2 separate regions of the Homo sapiens genome follow, and region 2 is linked to region 1. Evidence: promoter capture Hi-C in human tissues and cell types (Jung and others, 2019). All regions are on one chromosome and are shown on one strand. The core of a region is centred on a gene start or on the middle of the fragment in contact, and the rest is flanking DNA. Distances in the headings are between cores, read along the strand shown.

Evidence for each region. Contacts are between HindIII fragments. The study calls those that stand out against the background at their distance.
Region 2: a fragment that was not itself captured here is called in contact with the fragment with the promoter of SYT14 in region 1 in 1 of the 25 tissues and cell types used here (thymus).

What each region holds. Positions count from the first base shown.
Region 1 is chr1:209,936,896-209,939,643 of GRCh38, reverse strand. It overlaps SYT14 (synaptotagmin 14), which reads right to left and starts at 1,427. Exons shown (of 9, transcript NM_001146262.4): 1 at 1,367-1,427. The coding sequence starts at 1,379. RefSeq lists a silencer at 1,686-1,980. The HindIII fragment of the contact is 7,833 bases long and covers 1-2,748 here.
Region 2 is chr1:210,133,549-210,136,530 of GRCh38, reverse strand. The region is part of intron 6 of SYT14 (synaptotagmin 14); the gene reads right to left. Among named protein-coding and RNA genes, the nearest start is that of SERTAD4, 98 kb to the left of the region's middle. The HindIII fragment of the contact is 5,371 bases long and covers 1-2,982 here.

The DNA of each region.
Region 1 (2,748 bases), core at 178-2,677:
GATTTTTAACCTTTGGTAAAAGGACAGTGAGGGAAACAAATGTTGAAAGTACTGCTGCAGATAACAGGAACATCATAGATTATAGGTAGATCTTATTCCCCACCATTTTAACTCAAGCAGACATTTGAAACTGTCTGAATGTGTCTTGCATACAATAGGTACTCCCTCTCTTAAATAAATAAGCTACATGTAAACACACAGCTAACTCTACTTTGGAGTCCACATGATCCGACAAAAAGAAGTCCCCAGAGATGCATACTACCAGTGATTGATCACTTAGAAGGGAAACGCTTTAAAAAGTTTTACTTAGGAACACACTTTCAATGTAGAGAAATAATGATATAGCTATAGGTACCTTGCACAGCTGCACAGATGAATATACACACACAGGGAAAATTTACAAATTACTTTCACTGTTTGAGTTAATCTAAGAGACAGGGCCTGGAAGATGTAATCTTTCACATAAATATCCTAGACGTGTGAAATTAATTCTCACAATCTCTTCCTTAAAAACAAGGCAAAATATAGACACTTGGTCCCAGTTACATGTTTCTGGAACAAGAGAAAAATACACTTTAGTGTCAACTACCTTATCTAGGAACTTAATTTTTATTAAGCTGTTTTTCGAAATATGAGCATTGTGGCACTATAACACTTCATAGACTGGTATTTGCAGGATTCTAAGAATGTGTGCTTGTTGTAAAGACGTTATTTACTTCTTTTCATGGAGAAAAACAGTTTTGAGTGTTGGCGGGGAACAAAACCACTTGAGGAGGAAATTAACCTAACCCCAAATTTCCTGGACCCCCTACAACAGCAAACAGAAGGGGAACGGGCAGAGAGTGTAACCCAGCATCAGCCCGAGCGGGCACAGGGAAGGGTTAGGAATGGGACAAAAAACTGGACTCTCAGTTTGGCAGGAAGGTGGGTATTGCGGAAGGATGGTTTGCCGCGGCCGGGGAAAGAAAAGAAAGGGCAGCCTGAGCCCCCCGTGGCCCCTCGCTCCTCCCAGCCCGTCCCGTGGGGTCTGCAGGGCCTCACCCCGACCTCCACTCCGCGCGGCCGGCAGGAGGCGGCGGCCCGGACGCTGTACCTGCCCGCCAGCCCGCTTTGCCCCGCGTGCGGCCGCCGGGAGGCCGGCAAAACCACGAAGGCCGGGGCGAGCGAGCCAGTCGGGCCCGGCGTCCCAGCGGCGCCGCTCCGCCCACCCGCCTCCCGAGACGCGGCCAGGACCCCCGCGCGTCTTCAGCCGGCTCCAGACCACAGGAGGCGGCCCCGTCAGCGCCTCGGCCTGCCGGCGCACCTCCGAGCCCCCCGCCAGCTGGGTGGTCCCGGTCCTCGCTCCCCGCTGTCAGCCTCCACTTACCTTCAATCGCCATGATGCGCTCGCCATGGACCGCACCAACTGGATGGCGGGGGCAGCAGACGCGAGGGCTGGCGGAGGACGCGCTGAGTCCGCCAGCGAGAGGGGCGGGGCCCGGCCCGGAGTCGCCCGGCTGTGCGGCCGCGAGGGGCGCCGCGGGCGGGGCGAGGGAGGGGCCCCGAGCGCCGCGAGTGCGGGCCGCGGAAGAAATGGAACCTTCCCGGGGCCGCCGCTGGCACGTGACGCCACCCCGCCCCCACCCCAACCTACCCCACCCCACCCCACCGCCCCACCGCGCCTCGCGCCTCGATTCGAAACAGGTGCCCGGCCCGGAGAGCCACGGGCCCGCGCCCGAGACCCGCCCGAAGCGCGCCGAGCTCGTGTGGGGGCCCAAGCCCAAGCTTCCTGGCGCCGGGCGCCCTCCCGTCCGGTACTTGGAGCAAACGGTGTCCATGAAGGAGGCGAGTGGCAAATGATGTGGTCAGGACCATGGACAGGTCTCCTTGGTTGAAAAGGATTCCCACCCACTGACTCTCAGATTTGGTAATAGTAAGTCTGTTTTGGTTTCGTTTGGTTTTATTTTGTTTTGTTTTGCCCGAATCAGCCACATACTCGTCTCAGATCTCCGCTGTGGAGAAACAGCTAGTTGGCAAAAAGCAAAAAGGAGAGAGGAATCCTGAGCACAGCAGTGGTCTCTCTCTCTCTCTCTCTCTCTCTCTCTCACACACACACACACACACACACTCACTTCACCCCTTAGCCTCGCTCTTGATAAGCCTTGCTGCCACACAGAGCTTGGCTTACCTCTTGGAACTCTGAGTTGGAATTTGTCTACACATTGCAAACGCACATTTGAAGCCACACAAAAGTCAGGGTCAGACGGACGTTTTGACAAAGGACCTGGAAAGCATGTCACACGCAGGTTTTTAAAAATTTGTAAACCTGTGACCATTGTGAACAGTCCCAGGCCAACCCTGAGCACAACAACAATTGGCCACTTAGTTTTTACTTAAGATACTTGAACCGCTCAACCATTTACCCAACTCTCAACTTCATTTAGTAATTTGAGAACCTGGACAATCAACGGCATAAACAACATTGAGAAATAGGGAGTTTAGTGATTCTCTCTTGTGGAGGAAATGCTAATTCCTAGAGCAAAATAGCTATATTAGGGACTGAAACAAAGAAGAAAATATTTTACACTTATGTAAGTAAGGTTGGACTGTAAATCTAGAGCAGAAACTGTCTTCCATTGCTTTTATATAACCTCTCCCTCAGTCGCATTTTATGCTCAATAGACATTCATCCTTTACCATTTTCTTTAGTTCAGTGAGTATCTGTGAAGCCGGCACTGTGCTGAAAACTGGCTACAAGCAAGAATTGTT
Region 2 (2,982 bases), core at 212-2,711, 200 kb before region 1:
AACCAATTAACTCCTTGATTGTACTAGGAAAAGCATCACACAATGGGATGAATTGGAACTTTGGCCATCATCTGGCTATACTTACAATCTAGTTATACTTCTCGGGTAAATTTATTTTTCCATTTCCCCAATTATTATAAATCTTCCATTTTCTAAAATCAGCTGACCCAGTTCCATTCTCCTAAAATCACTGACCCCGTTCCCTTTCTCCTTACTCATTCCTGCCTCCTGCTTCTCTCTCTCTCACATACACATGCACGCATACACACACACCTCTCAATATGTGGAAACTTCCTCAACTTCCTGTGAAAATATCTACAAACTTTCTGACATCTGGATTCTCTCCTTCTTTCTTACCATTGTAAGAGGAGGCATCCCTTGTATTTCAGACCAATTTCTCCACCTGCTGTCTGGATCCTATTTTCTACAGGCTTCTTGTCTCACATCCTAAATATCAGGCTTCAGTGAATTTGTCTCAGCCATATTTAAATATGCTTAAGTCTCACTCATAGTTTAAAAATTCATTTTGAATCCCAAACTACCTATGGCCAAGGAAAGAAGTGCTGGAAGGAATCAAGCAGAACAATCCCCACAACTCACATAGGCCTGAGAATAATTCACATTCTGAACAAAGTGTAGAAAACATAATATATGGGGCACTGAGTTGAGTACTTAGAAGGAAATTGCCTGAGTAGTGGGGTCAAATTAGCCCTAGAATAAACAATGTCTAGTTTTCTATAGCAAAACTTAAAAGCAAGCCTCAAAAGGATCAAAATGTTTTCAAGTTGCCTGATTGCATCCAAGAACAAAGCTCAAAAGTAAGAGAAAACAAAATAATTTAGCACCCAACAATGTATAATCCACAATATCTGGGATCCATTAAAAATTATCAAGCATGAAAAGAAGAAGGAAAATAAAACCCATATTAAGGAAAAAAAGTCAATTGATAAAAACTGATCCAGAAACTAAACAGATGATAGAATTTGTAGACATGGACCTTAAAACAGCGATTATAAATATGTCCCATGGTTCAAGACAATAGAAGAAAACATGGGCTTGTTAAGAAGAGACACAGACTATATAAAATAGACCAAAATTTAACTTATAGAGGCTGAAAAATCTATCTGAGATGAGAAATACACTGGACTGGATTACCAACATAGACATTGCACAGGACAAGATCAATGAACCCAAAGATACAGCAATAGAAGGTCTAAAATCAAACCACAGAGGAAAAAAAAGACAGGGAAGCCAGGTGCGGTGGCTCATGCCTGTAATCCCAGCATCTTGGGAGGGTGAGGCCAGTGGATCACTTGAGGCCAGGAATTTGAGACCAAACTGGCCAACATGGCAAAACCCTGTCTCTACTAAAAATACAAAAAATTAGCCAGGTGTGGTGGTGCATGCTTGTAATCCTAGGTACTCGGGAGGCTGAGGTAGAAGAATCACTTCAACCCGGGAGGTGGAGGTTGCAATGAGCTGAGATTGTGCCACTGTATTCCAGCCTGGGTGACAGAGTGAGACTCTGTTTTTGAAAAAAAAAAAGACAGGGAAAAAAATTAAGAACACAAAAATTAAGAACACAGCATCGGTGAGTTGGGACAACTTCAAAGGGTCTCATATATATGTATCAGAGTTTCAGAAAGGGGTTATGTGGCCAGAATTAATATTTGAAGAAGTACTGGCAAAAGGTTCCCTTTAATTAAAACTACAAATCCAAACCTTTGAGAAACTCAATGAACCCAGATCGACAGGATGAGATTTGTATGATGAGGTTATGGCTCCTAGCTTTATCAACAGTTTTACAGTGGTACTGTAAAATGATTTAGGAAATGGAGGAGGAGGAAAAGCATGTTTAGGGGTAGGGGCAGAAAGGAGTTCATTATTGTATATGGTGAGTTTAAGGACAAAAGTATGAAGCTTTAAAGGTATACTGTATGTGAAAACACTCTGTAAACAGTTGAAGTGTTTTACAAATGATTTAAGTATGTGTTCAACTAAGGCAAGAAACTCAGGGCTCTATTTCATTAATACTAATGATGATGCTAAGCTTAAAACTGTAAAACTTAGATACAGATGTTCAAATAAATAAGAGTAATGCATAGTTAAGAGCAAGATAATCAAAACAGGGTGTGGTGGCTCACACCTGTAATCCCAGCACTTTGGGAGGCTGAAGCGGGTGGATTGCTTGAGCCCAGGAGTTCAAGATGAGCCCTGGCAACATAGTGAGACTCCTGTCTCTACAAAAAAAATTTTAAAAATTAGCCAGGTGTGGTGGCATGCACCTGTGGTCTCAGCTACTCAGGAGGCTGAGGTGGGAGGATCGCTTGAGCCTGGGAGGTTGAGGCTGCAGTGAGCCACGATTGCACCACTGCCTTCCAGCCTGGGTGACAGAGCAAGACCTTGTCTCCAGCCTGGGTGACAGAATGAGACTGCATCTCAAAAATAAATAAATAAATAAATAAAAATCAACAACAACAAAACCTAACCAATCAAATTGTAACTATGTGCCAACCCTTACATGAATAATGTTGTAATCCTGCCAAAAGCTCCTCTGTCTCTGCCTATACAAATGAAACTTTAGCTTCCCTACTTTGGAATGCCAACTCCATTCCTATGGAGTTGGTGTTTCTGAGTGGTCCATCCCCACACTTTACACTTGAATAAGCTCTCCAAAAAAAAAAAAAAAAGAGTAAATAAGATAATCAGCTGTGACTAAGACATCTTTTGGGCTAGGTTCTCAAAAATAAACAACCAGACAGTTGCCAAAAAAACATCAAAATTAGTACTCAGCTCTAGGATTCTTACAAATTTTTATTCACCTCCACCTTGCACAAGAAGCAAAAGGAATAATACTTCAGAAAGTACAGAGGTTTTGATCTTTCTGTCAGTTCACTTAGAATGGATAAGTGAATATATTAATAAAATATGGGAGGCAAGAGAAAATACTAATACACTGGACACCACTATCAGATTCACCAT